Linked DNA regions of Homo sapiens: all the other regions are linked to region 2. Evidence: promoter capture Hi-C in 16 types of primary human blood cells and fetal thymus (Javierre and others, 2016). All regions are on one chromosome and are shown on one strand. The core of a region is centred on a gene start or on the middle of the fragment in contact, and the rest is flanking DNA. Distances in the headings are between cores, read along the strand shown. Region 1 overlaps CASK (calcium/calmodulin dependent serine protein kinase). Region 2 holds the start of CASK-AS1 (CASK antisense RNA 1). Region 3 overlaps CASK (calcium/calmodulin dependent serine protein kinase).

Region 1 (4,343 bases), core at 656-3,155, 220 kb before region 2:
GCCACCTGTATAAGCTGTTAAAATGGTGAAAGGAACTTTCCAGAGTGGACCAGAAAAGAGTAGCATTGGGACCAGTAGATGACATTGCAAAGAGAGAGGTTTGGAGGCAGTTTATTAAAGGTTCTTCCTCTGAACAATAAAAAAAAGTAGGCGGGGACTCAGAAAGTATTATTATGTGTGTTTGCTATTGCAGAGGATCAATGACCATGCAACAAGGGCGCGTAGATTCTTCCATTGGTTTAATGACAGATGACTTCTAATCTTTCTTCGTCCTCTCTGATTCTGTGATTTATTGTTAGGAAATTCAGCTTGTATCAGTATTCTAGTGAGACCGACTGCAAGAAGACTCTGAGACACCAAGTAATCAAATTGATAATGTTGTTTTTCTCCAACTGGCTGAGCTTCAAGAGGAGCAGCAAAGCATGGCATAAAATAAAACTGTGTTCAGTCCTTAGTGCAACCCAATTAGTTATTACCTCCATCCTTTCAGGGGTGATGAGTTGTGGAGTGAGCTAACACACAAGATCAGATTATCAAATCAAACTCTCAGAGATCTTCTTAACTAGTACCAAGCTTTACTAAATAATCTCAAGGATACAGGCAGTCAGAAGGCTCAAGTGAAGCAGAGAAGGGAAGGGCAGCCCCCCACGTCACTTCTTACTGCCTCAGAAATGCACCTCTGGCCCAGAATAGATGAGGTTTATACTGGGGTTTGTGGGTTTCCACACACAAAGGGGAGCATTGCAAATATCTTCATTTTACACCCCAGAGATTTGGATAGCTCCATTGACATTCTCCAGGAAGCCATCTGTGCCTCAGAGATCCCGTGTTCTACTTACCATAGTAATCCTTAGCCAGAGATATCCTATTAAGGGCATTTCAGAGATAAGGTCTCTTCTGCCTAGCAAATAGCATTAGGCTTTTCACCTGCATTGACAAGAATAGCAGACTGAATCACCTCTCTTCTACCATGCTGCACCCCTGAAATGCCTCCTTCCAAAGGCAGTAAATGCATTGCTGGCCAGCTTTTTCCTTCCATGGAGTTATTATCTTGCTGATCCTTAGGAAAGATAAAGATAAACAAATATATTGCTGAGTTTCTCTGAAAGCACAGGTCTCTATGATGCTTCATGAAGTGAAGTTTTTTGATTAAAAGTTTAGTCAGCAACTTCCTAGAACATGTGGGCAGATTTTAGTTCTTGTTTTATTCTGCTTGCACACTTTGACATGCATTGCCTCGCAGGATCATGACTGGGAGGGTGGAGAAAGATAGTTCAGTTCTGTTATAACTTGGGAAGAAAAACAGTTCCACTGTCTCCACACACGCCGCAAAGATTCTGCTGTGTACATACGTTTGGGTCAAGTAATTGAGTGTTCTCATATGCAAATGAAAAAAGCCTCATTCATTGAGTTTGGTTTTGTGTTATGAGACTTTGAGATAGGAATTTTCTTTAGGTTAAAGATAATTTAGGTGGCTGTCTCAGTGCTTTGTATCCAAAATAGTTCATTCTGTGGGTACAAGCTATGTCCACTTTAACTAATTTAAATTTACCCAGTATTTCCATGTTGACATCTAGATGGACAAATAAGCTGTTCCTAAATCTTTGATTGAACTTAACAATAATAATATTGTACTAATAATGTCTTAACCTTTGTAGCATGGTTTAGAGTTTACAAAGCACTTTGACAGGTGTAGTCTCTTAGCCATTTCAAGGGGTTACAGATCTTCCAAAGCCTGATTTGAACCAGTAATGGGCCACAACACCAAGTTAACCCCTCATTTGAACAAAACTTATGGCCAGGCGTGGTGGCTCATGCCTGTAATCCCAGCACTTTGGGAGGCTGAGGCAGGCTGATCACTTGAGGTCAGGAGTTTGAGACCATCCTGGCCAACATGGTGAAACCCTGTCTCTACTCAAAATACAAAAACTAGCCAGGCGTGGTGGCGCATATCTGTAATCCCAGCTACTTGGGAGGCTGAGGCGGGAAAATCGCTTGAACCCAGGAGGCAGAGGTTGCAGTGAGCCGAGATCCCACCATTGCACTCCAGCCTGGGAGACAAGAGGGAAACTCCATCTCAAAAAATAAAAATAAAAAATAAACAAAACTTAATTACAGGCTACAATGGCCCAAGCAAAGAGTATATGAGCACAACCCCTTATATGTGCATTTGCAAAGTAAGATAAATTAAAACATCAGAGCTAATGATTACATGAGCCTAGCTCTCTGGCTTAAAGCCCCGTTGTAAGGAGCCTGTGATTAGTACAGGAACAAGGCTTGTGATTAGTACAGGAACAAGGCTTGGGTTTGTTTTTGTTTTTGTTTTTTCTCCTACCTTTCATTTTTAAAATGGAACCTTTCCAATTAATTGTAATACATGAAATAATGCATATGCTAACTAGAGAAATATTCCTGTGAGCTTGATTAAATGGTATCATGCCAAAGAGGGAACTTGATGGAAATGTCTTTTAATTGTAAAGCCAGGATAGGGATTTTTTTTTTTTTTTTAGTCCTGAGTCACATACACATGTTCAAGGTCACTTGTATCAGAAATATAAGATCTGGAAACAAAACAAAATTCTATAAATATTATACAGTGAACAGTGTTAAGTCTATTGCATTTCTGTCATGCTGGTTGGGAAGGAAAAGGGAAAAAATGAGAAAAGAAGGGGAATAGGAAGAAAAGAGACAAATATGGAGGGAATAAAATACAGAAAATGAAACAGATACTCAGAGAAAGAGTAATAGGGCAATTATAGAAGAACTTTAGAAATAGGAGAAGGAGGTTCTAAAGTGGTACTGAATCAACTGCTCTTGTCACACATGGTTGCTAGTTAACCCCATTACCATTTTTTAATTCCTGTTCTTTAAAATGCTGATTTCTTCTTTGTTCTTCACCTGTGCTCCATGAGGGCTCCTCAGCTGGCCATGTAAGGAGTCAGGCTTTCTAGGACATGTGCCTAGAATTAACTCCACTTTGTTCAAGGGAGCCCCAACTAAAACTTGATTATGTTACAAAAAGAAATTGTCCGATAAGGGTGGCTCTTCCCTCATTTGTCCTCACAGCTAAATAGAAGTAAGATGAAGAGCATCTTATTATTTGCTGGCAGATCAAAGGCTCCCACTGCTTGAGTCTGAATCCTTGGGGCAGCCCTGAGCACTGTTTACATAACGCAGTCCAGTTTAAGTAGAATTACCTGAGTATTGGGGAAAAAAATTGTCATGTTTTAAGCTTGAATTTTTAGTTTGCAAAGCAAATTTACTTATGAACTATGTGTAATTCTTTTGACTTAGATAGCTTAGAAAATATAGAGCATACTATTTCTTCATGAAGCCCATAAACTTTTGAGTCTGCCAACATTTTCATTATTAAGCCTCACTTTACACCAATCCTGTCTGCTCAAATCAAATGTGTCCATGGACAGCTAATATGAGAGTGGGAGTTATAAACTAGGAGCACTGTATATTAAGTTTTAAAATAAAAATTGTTTACAGTTTTTAGATTTCTTTTGTTTTTTACAGCCATTATATGAGACAGATACTGGAAGCTCTACGCTACTGCCATGATAATAACATAATTCACAGGGATGTGAAGGTAAGTCATTTGTTATCACTAACTTTAATGTTTGTGAAGAAATACTGATATAACAATGATAATCAAGAATTCTTCTTTAATATTGTCATAAAGAACATCTTAATTTTACTTCTAAGTAAAAATGTATTTAACTGCTTTGTATTTGGGAAGTCATTGTACTAATTCTTACTAGGAACACTATAATTTCAATTTATTTATTTTTACTGAAGTGTTCATGCAATCTAAAATTGTATTATTTCTCTTTTGCCATTGTGTGTGAGAGAGAAATGAAAAATCCAATAAATAGGAAAAACCAAACAATATCCTATACTGAGTTAATTGGGGGGGAAATTAGAATTTGGTTTATATAGTAAAAGTTAATCATAACATATTTTCATAATATTGCAATGCAGAATAGTCAGCATTGTATTTTTTTGCAGATAGTTTTTAAATATAGTATGAAATCATAATTATACATGTAATACGATTTTATGCTTGGAATACCGGTATTATCATTATTCAGTCTTTCTGCCTATTTCATCCCAGTATCGGGTTAATGAGAACTCTCAGTTCCTGGTTCTTTAACGGTGTCAAGCCAAACATAGAGGGAGGCAAGAAATGAGACCAGTAGGCCTTCCTCCTGATCCCTAGCTTCTCCCAAGGCCCAGAATCACTAGGGAGCCCCTGAGGTCCCTTTGACCCTGGGCTACACTTTTAAGCTCTGATATTTTGTCACTGGCCTTTCTCTAACCTCCAGCATGCACATACA
Region 2 (4,460 bases), core at 1,383-3,882:
CTGGGAGCACCTCATTTGTGGAAAAGCCTCTTTGTTATCGGCCTTGTGTCAGCAGGTCATGGTCCCTAGAGACTACCTAGTTGTAGTGTGACCTACATTTATAATTATTGTCATGTCCGAATAGATAGGAGGAGAAAAACAATTACACACTAATTTAAAGAGACAGTATCTTTTTTAATCAGTTCTCCTAAACTTTAATAAAATGTATCTTTAAATGTATGTATTATTCAATCCTTTGGAATGTTATATTTTTGGAAATCATAGCTTTTTATTTCCAAGGCCCCTAAAAACTGCACAAAATAGATGCTGCTTTCTATAATCTATTTTAATAATAATAAACAATGATTCTGTTACCTTGACTGGGGGTGGAACACTACATTCTTTTTAGAGTCTGATTTTATGGATTGGAATATTGGGATATCTTTCTTTCCTTTATTTATTTGAAATAATTAGTGTAGTGATTACAAAACAGTCATAAATTTTTAAAGGCCTTTTTTCTCTCTTTTTTTTTTTTTAGAATAGTATTTTTTTTTAAGTCCTTTATGTAACATCCAGATAATGTGATACTGTCTCTTTGAAGCACCCTGTAAACCTTTTAGAGATTTGAAGTTGGGTCTTGACTCTTAATGCATGTGGACAGTCGCGAGCGTTTATGCTGTCGGTGTGTCTGTGTTGGACAAAACAATCTGTAATCTACAGCAAAGTACATTCTACATTCCGTTCATGGGGCACACCCAGGGGAATAAGAATAAAATGCTATTATGACTAAGTTGTAAACCTATGCACATCCCTTGCATTTTGGGCAACTTTATAAAAAAAAAGAAACTGATTTTTATTAATAATAATCATGTAGTGAAATGTGTTTGTAATTTTGTCTCAATTTAATTTGTTGTAAGGTGGGGTGGGGGGAATTGCTGGTTTCACCATTTCAGATCTGTGTTGTCTAAGAGTATTAACGTTTTAATTAAGCAAAGAAATGATTTTTAATCTGTATGTAATTGTTTTAAAGCACCCATTTTAAGAGAAAATACTGTGCAATGAAGAAACCAGTTTAGGCATTTGCTATAAACTGAAATATTCCAAAAGAATCATCTATAACAGCCCTGTAAATTCCTTTAAAATGATAACTAACAGGACAGTTTGACCAATTTTTTTTAAATATACTTCCTTTTATGTGTTCAATAATTAAATGCCTTTGGGTCCTTCATTTCATTATAGATTTGTTCAGGCTTCCAAGCTGATAATCTTTACAATTGTATAATTTGTTAGATGCTCATTGAACCTTTGAAGGCCCAGGAGTGAGTATCAGTTGGCAGGGTGACAAAGTAGCCTGCCAGAGCACAGCTGGACCACGTCTGACTCGCACAGAGCCATGCGCCCAAGGGCCACGGGTGTACTGGAGGCCACCTGTGGTCTCTCCTTCCTCTTGCTGTATCCCTTGGCACAGGGGAATCATCTGTCCTTGTTGCTTTAGAGACATTAACCATCTCATAACTCTTCCATGAAGTCACATTCTTCCAATACAGGAGATTCGGGCTGGGGTTCTCAGACTCTTTGCCAGAGGTCAGTAGAATGTTTTTCATTAGCATGTGAGGGTGTGAAGTGCTTATATTAACCTGTGATCCTTGAAAACATACCATCATTTTTTGCTTCTTGTAGGTTAGATGGCCTTGTCACTTTGTGCCTTGGCAGGATGTGCAGGGTGTGTTCTGAGCTGAACAGCTCCTCTTAAAGGACCAAACAGAGAAGGCATTAGTATACTTCTTTTACATTGTCAACACCATACCCGCCTCCGCCCCCCACCGCCTATTATTAAATGGTGGCGATTTTTTTTTTTCTGATGTTGTTCTTTGCCAGTGACCAGATGAGTCTGCAACTTACTAACAAGGTATTGAGTGAACTACTTCTGTATGGGCCCCACAGTGGGGTGACCAAGCCACCAAACCAGAGATAAGCTCAACAGTGGTCTCACACTAGATAGAGAGAGAAACCTTCAAAGAGTTGGGTAGGGCTGTGTTAGAACTGATTCGAATCTGATAGATGCCAAGGCCAGACAGTCGTTCCTGGTATGGTACTGACCACAATTTCGGGCTCTTAGTGTGAAGGTGCGCACTCTACCTCTTTTCTGGTGAAGCACAAAGACAACTACAACTAACACATGGGAAACAGAAACTTCCCTCCCTCTAGTGGAAACCCCCACGCCCCCACTTGCCCTTTGAGCCCACATCTCCAGAGATGCTGATGATGCCTGTCTTAAGCCATCTGCCATATTTATAAAGGTGGATTAAGCAGAGGAGGAGAAAAGCAATGCCAACTTAAATGTCTGTGGCCCCACAATTCACAAGCACTGTAGCACTCATCCTCAGTGGCTTTATACGTCCTCTGAGAAGCACACAGGCAGGCATCATTCTTGCCATCATTCCGATGGTGAAATCCCTGCATGCAGAACTCATTGACTTCTCAAAGATGTTACCTGTTCCATTCCACTAATACATGTCTTCTCTAAAGCAGTGTCTTTATGACCTAGCTGCATATACTTACATTTCTGAATTCAGAGTAATTTCAGTACATTGCTGCTGCTGCTGCTGCTGCTGCTGCTGCTGCTGCTGCTGCTGCTGCTGCTACTGCTACATTACAATTGTCCACTAAGCAATCAGAGAAAATTGCTAAAAGCTTCTTTACTGCTTCCATTCCATCAGCAGAACCTTTTTTTTTCTTTCTTTCTTTTAAAGACCAGAATGAATGTTTAGAGTACTAAATCTTATTAGTGGTCAATTGAAGTATTGGAGAGCCACATTTTGAAGGTTCTCTCCCCCACCCAACTCCATTCCCCACAGCAAGAAAGGGAGTGTTTTTATATGTTGAATTCTTTGTTAAAAAGATGAAATGTCCTGATTTTCCAGTCACAAGACAGTAATTACTTTGCACATACAGCATATCCCATTTTAATGCTAAAAAGGGAAATGTCACTCAATTTAATTCATCTGGAAGTTTCCCAGTGTCAAGATAACATTGTAGCCTTTTTAAATGCAATTAAATGTATCTCTTGTCAGGTGAGATGATTTAAAATCTTTGCTCAGAGAGGAAAACAAATGGTTGACCTACTTCTTGCTATTTGCATTCAGAAGGCATCGTCCCAGCCCATCCTATTGGTGGCAGAATATCTAAAGATGTCGCAAAGTCCCCCACTGCAGTAGAAATGCAGGAGGTGTTCCTGTTCCCCGTCCAATTCCTTCTTAGGCTGCTAGAGACAGCCAGTGGGCCAAGCCTTCCCCTGTGCTCCAGGCAGGCCTGGGCTGCAGCTACTGTTACCTTTTTACAGCCTTTGATCTGATCGCTGCAGAGTTCTTTTGTTTTTAAATCACTTGTATTTGTCTCTTCATTAAGGCTTCAAGTTTATTTCTTGAAAAAGTTTAGTCAATTGAACCACCCTCCAGGAAGATTCCCAGCGTGGAAACTGCCCCTGAAAAACAAGGCAGCCCAAAGCCAGCTCTCTTTTGTCCCCCACTGATGTCATGTCCTTTTTTTTTTTCATTTCAGGCCAGTTTCTTAACTTGGGGCAAAGAGAATGTGTTGCTAAAGCTACCAAGAAAACTGCTTGATTAACAAATTCTTAATAGAAATGCCTCCCACACTGTCTCTTTGAAAAGAGAAGGCACCTTGGAATCGGCATTCCAAAACCAAGCTCCTTGTCATCCTCATCCCTCCTCCTTCTTGCTTCCTATTATCAAACTCGTGTGTGTTTCTTGTTTTCTCAGAACTGAACACAGCCTCCTAATTCCATCCTCTTGACTAGGGCTTACAATACTGAGAGCGATTACAGGCTGTAATAAGTTAAAGGTCCCTGAGCGTGGCTTTCTTGTTCTGCGCCTCTAATTAATTCTTCTATTAAAAGATGCTTTCCTTCTCACTGCAGCTTACAGAAAGGCTACAAGCTTTAATCACAGATCATTTCATTTGCCAGAGCCTTTCCTTTTCTAACTCCTTTAGAAATAAGATTTCCCTCTCTGTTTGGAATCTCTGGATACAGGACTCTCCTCCAAGCTCATGGCTTGATTGGCTTTGCCTGTGCACACACACATCAGTTTGCCTTAAACTTGGAGCTATGGGGAGTCCCAGATTTTCCAGCTTAGTGGGTGAAGTTTAGCTGTCACCTACATCCAGGAAGTGGGGGAAAAGGGAAAAAAAGAGGATATTCACCACCATGTTCCCATCCGGTCTTTCCCCTGCCTTGCTTTGTGCAGCAGGTGGGCAGACAGAGCCCACAGAAACAGAAGTAGAAAGAGGGCCGCACCATCTCTGGGGCCAGCACTCCTAAGTCTTAGCTCTTTGTGGGAATAGAAAATCCTGAGCTCCCACCACCTCTCGTCTGACCCTCCATCAACTCCCTCGAACCTGTGCAAATGGACTGAGCAAAAGAAAATGGAAAGAGATGTTTGTCACCACACAGGAGACCTCCT
Region 3 (4,418 bases), core at 1,684-4,183, 250 kb before region 2:
GAGTGTGCGTATGTGTGTTTGAACCTTGCCTTAGGTTCTTTGTTTTTTCAATCAGTGTATTGATATTATTCATGGTTTTAGAAAATTCTCAGCCATTATTTCTTCAAATGTTGCTTCTGCCCCTTTATCTCTTTCGTCAGCTTTGTGACCAAATTAAATATTGGTAGAGGTATACCTTGTGGTATTTTCTATGTCTTCTACCTTCTTTTCTGTATTTTGCATGTTTTTTTTTCTCCATGCTTTGGTCTTTTTGTTTCTTCTGTCCTCTCTTACTGGTCTCTTTCTCTTCAGTACTGTTTAATCTGATGTTAATCTATTCACTAATTTTTAAATGTTAATTATATTTTTCAGTTTTATGTTTCTATTTCCTTTTTAAAATCTACTGTATTATTTTTTGGCCGGGCATGGTGGCTCACACCTGTAATCCCAGCACTTTGGGAGGCTGAGGCAGGCAGATCACCTGAGGTCAGGAGTTCAAGACCAGCCTGGCCAACATGGTGAAATCTCGTCTCTACTAAAAATACAAAAAAATTAGCTGGACGTGGTGGCGAGCACCTGTAATCCCAGCTACTTGGGAGGCTGAGGGCAGGAGAATCGCTTGAACCCGGGAGGTGGAGTGAGCCAATCAGCCTGGGCAACAAGAGCAAAACTCCATCTCAAAAAATAGATAGATAGCCAGCCAGCCAGCCTGGGTAACAAGAGCAAAACTCTGTCTCAAAAAACGGATGGATGGATGGATGGATGGATGGATGGATGGATGGATGGATGGATAGGTAGGTAGGTAGGTAGATAGATAGATAGATAGATAGATAGATAGATAGATAGATGATAGATAGATAGATTGTATTATTTTTGGCTTTTATTCTCTTGCAAAAAAAAAAAACAAGCTCAGCTTTTATGTTCTAGGGCATAGTAAGCTTCATTGTTTGATAATCTGTGCTGGATAATCTCAGTATATGAAGTCCCTGTGGGTTTGCTTTTATTGTCTGTTATTTTTGCTGGTTATTGGTCGAGATCTCTTATCCCTTCATGTACCTTATTCATTTTTGTCTTGTGCTAGAAATTATGTTGAAAATTATTGGCCTAAGATGATGCTTTCTTTCTCCAAAGAGGAATTTTGTTGTTGTTGTTGTTGTTGTTGAGACAGGGTCTTACTCTGTTGCCCAGACTGAAATGCTGTGGCTCAATCACAGCTCACTGCAGCTTCTACCTCCTGGGCTCAAGTGATCTTCCTGCCTCAGCCTCCTGAGTAGCTGGGATGACAGGCACACACCACCACAGCCACTTAATTTTTTTTATTTTTAGTACAGACATAGTCTCACTGTGTTTCCCAGGCTGGTCTTGAACTCCTGGGCTCAAGGAATCATCCTGCCTCCTCAGAGTGCTGAGATTACAGGCATGAGCCACTGTGCCTGGCCCAAAGAGGATTTTTATTTGCTGCTTCTACTGCGAACCTTCAGGCACCTAGCTGTTTAAGACTTTCTTACTCAAGATTTAAGGCTTAGATTTTCAGTGCCACCTAGATGTAAAGCCGGGTTGCAAGTCTGTGAAGGGGCTGATTGCTTCCAGTTCACCCCTAGCTCTTTAGGGCATCAGCTCAGTGCTGGAGAGTAGAGTTTATCAGATTCTCTTGAATTCTCACTCATTTTCCCTTTTGAGCCCAGGAATTAGAGACCAGCCTGGGAAATATAGTGAGACCTCATCTCTAAAAAAGTTTAAAAATTAGCCAAGCATGGGGGTATGCACCTATAGTCCCAGCTACTCAGGAGACTGAGGCGGGAGGATCACTTGGGCACAGGAGATGGAGGCTACAATGAGCCAAGATCATACTACTGTACTCCAGCCTAGGCGACAGAGTGAGACTCTGTCTCAAAAAAAAAAAAAAAGAAAAAGAAAAAGAAAAGAAAAAAGTACTTTTTTTTTTTACTTATTTAGTTGTCTTCAATGGGAGACATCATCTAGTCTACCATTACAAGAAGCAGAACTCTAGCAATGTATTTAAAACTCTTTTAACGTAGTTTTCATATTACTCTCCATAAAGATTTACCAATTTATATTCACACATGGTAAATAAATGTATCTATGTTTACATTTTGATAGGTCAAAAGGATGTTTTGGTTTAATTTGCATTTATTTTGTCATTAGTGTGGTCAAATATTTTAAAAGTAAATTTACCCATTTCTTTTGCATCTAGTCACTTTCATTAGTTGTTTAGTTTTCCTTAGTTGTTTTAGTTGTAAGAATTCTTTTTTGTTTGTTTGTTTTTGTTTTTTGTTTTTAATAGAGATGGGCTCTCCCTTGCTTGCCTAGGCTGGTTCTGAACTCCTGGGCTCAAGCAGTCCTCCCACCTTGGCCTCCCAAAGTGCAGGGATTACAGGCATGAGCCACCACACCTGGCGAAGAATTCTTTATTTGCTAAAGATATTTACCTTTTTCATGTATTTGTAAATATTTTCCCCAAATCTGCCTGTTTTATTTTGCTTGTTGATTTTTTTTTAACATGCAGAACATTAAAATTCTGTCAGAAAATTACAGATAAGCAATAGGGAAGGCTAGAATGAACTCTTAGCTACTAGATTAGAGTTGAAGACAGCAGTATAATCTCATATTGAATTTATTATATGTACACACACGCACACATACACATATACATGTACAGATATATACAGAAATCATAAATTATATGTGCATACATGAGTTAGTACACATACATTCCTAGCTCTGTCCACTTAGAGAGCCTAAAGCATACCCACACCTAGATTTTTGTTTCTGAATGTCCTCCTCTAATTTAAGCAGCCAGGGATCCTCGGAAAAATGATTATAAATTCTAGGGCTGGAAAAGAGAAAATATAAGATAAACATGAAGCATCTTAGAGTGCCTGAAGGTAAGGAAGTATTCAAAAAGATGGGGGCATATCAGAGAGACATAGGAACCAACCTGAAAGCATGTCCAGTGGCCAAAACTGGAACAATTTGAGCAAAAAATAACACAGTATAGATTACAATCCAAAGTATAAAATAAATACTTATGAGTGCATAGTGATATAAAGAAATAATTAGATAAACAATTGAGAGAGAAAAAAAGAAGAATTCCAAGTGTTAGGTATAGATAATTTCCCTCCACCCTTGAGTGTAGGTTGGACTTAGTAACTCACTTTCAAAGAACAAAGTATGGAGAGGGAAATAGTAATTTTACAGTAGAGAGAACTAACAGATTATCTTCACCAAGTGATCACATTAGCATTACCAGTGATCATTCCTGCGTATATCATCCGCTCCTTGATATGATGTGATGAGAAGGGCATTTCACCTCTGATATTCTTCCCAAGAAACCCATAACCCTGACCTAGGCAAGAGGGAGACATCAGACAAACCCAAATTGAGGAACATTCTATAAAATACTTGGCCAGCATGCTTTAAAACTATCAAGGTCATGAAAAACAAGTAAAGACTAAGAAACTGTCACCAACCAGAGGAGACTAAGGAATCTTGACGACTAAATGCAACGTGGAATCCTAAATGGCAAGGGAAAAAGTATATAGTTGACAAACTGATGAAGTCCAGGTAAAGTCTGGAGTTTAGTTAATAGTAATGTACCAGAGTTACTCTTAGCTTTTACAAGTGTACTATAGTTACCTAAGATGATAACACTAGAAGAAGTTCATTTAGTGGTATACAGGAACTCTCTGTACAATCATTCCTCAGTATATATGCAGGGGATTGGTTCCTGGAACCTCACGTGTACTAAAATCCACGCATCTCAAGCTCTGCAGTCAGCCCTGTGGAACCCATATATAGGAAGTTAGCCTTCCATATAGGCAGGTTTCGCATTTAGCAAATACTGTATTTTTTATCTGCATTTGGTTGAAAACATTCTGCATATAAGTGGACCCATACAGTTCAGAACTGTGTTGTTAAAGGATCAACTGTACTATCTTTGCAACTTTTACGTCAATCTAAAATTATTCTAAAATAAAAAGTTTTCTTTACTCTAAACAAACAAAAAAGAAACCATGAGTTTACACCATTTCCAGTTTAAAGTAGCAATTACAGATTTTTATTTACAAGACAGTTATTAAATTATAAGGAATTATTATAAGTAATTTTGGTATTATAGTTATATAACAAAAAAGAGTTCTTACCTTTTGGAGATAAGTACTGAAATATTTATGCATAATGCTCTTGTTTTTGTTTTTTTGAAACAGGGTCTCACTCTGTTGCCCCAGCTGGAATGCAGTAGCCCAATCTCGGCTCACTGCAACCTCCACCTCCCAGGTTCAAGCCATCCTCCTGCCTCAGCCCCCCAGGTAGCTGGGACTACAGGTGCGCGTCACCATGCCCGGCTAATTTCTGTATTTTTTATAGAGACAGCGTTTCACCATTTTGGCCAGGCTGGTCTCAAACTCCTGAGCTCAAGT

What was found. The method cuts DNA at HindIII sites, captures the fragments that hold promoters and counts their contacts. A CHiCAGO score of 5 or more calls a contact.
Region 1: a contact is called between a fragment that was not itself captured here and the fragment with the promoter of CASK-AS1 in region 2, in 1 of 17 cell types (M2 macrophages). The highest score is 5.2, in M2 macrophages.
Region 3: a fragment that was not itself captured here is called in contact with the fragment with the promoter of CASK-AS1 in region 2 in 2 of 17 cell types (M2 macrophages and M0 macrophages); the score reaches 7.0 in M2 macrophages.

Annotation. Positions count from the first base shown.
Region 1 is chrX:41,738,636-41,742,978 of GRCh38, reverse strand. It overlaps CASK (calcium/calmodulin dependent serine protein kinase), which reads left to right. Exons shown (of 27, transcript NM_001367721.1): 5 at 3,523-3,595. Among named protein-coding and RNA genes, the nearest start is that of GPR82, 17 kb to the right of the region's middle. The HindIII fragment of the contact is 2,659 bases long and covers 576-3,234 here.
Region 2 is chrX:41,515,934-41,520,393 of GRCh38, reverse strand. It overlaps CASK-AS1 (CASK antisense RNA 1), which reads right to left and starts at 2,632. Exons shown (of 2, transcript NR_046581.1): 1 at 28-2,632. It overlaps CASK (calcium/calmodulin dependent serine protein kinase), which reads left to right. Exons shown (of 27, transcript NM_001367721.1): 27 at 1-4,460. RefSeq lists an enhancer at 3,076-3,577. The HindIII fragment of the contact is 5,609 bases long and covers 1-2,675 here.
Region 3 is chrX:41,766,667-41,771,084 of GRCh38, reverse strand. The region is part of intron 3 of CASK (calcium/calmodulin dependent serine protein kinase); the gene reads left to right. Among named protein-coding and RNA genes, the nearest start is that of GPR82, 45 kb to the right of the region's middle. The HindIII fragment of the contact is 4,027 bases long and covers 920-4,418 here.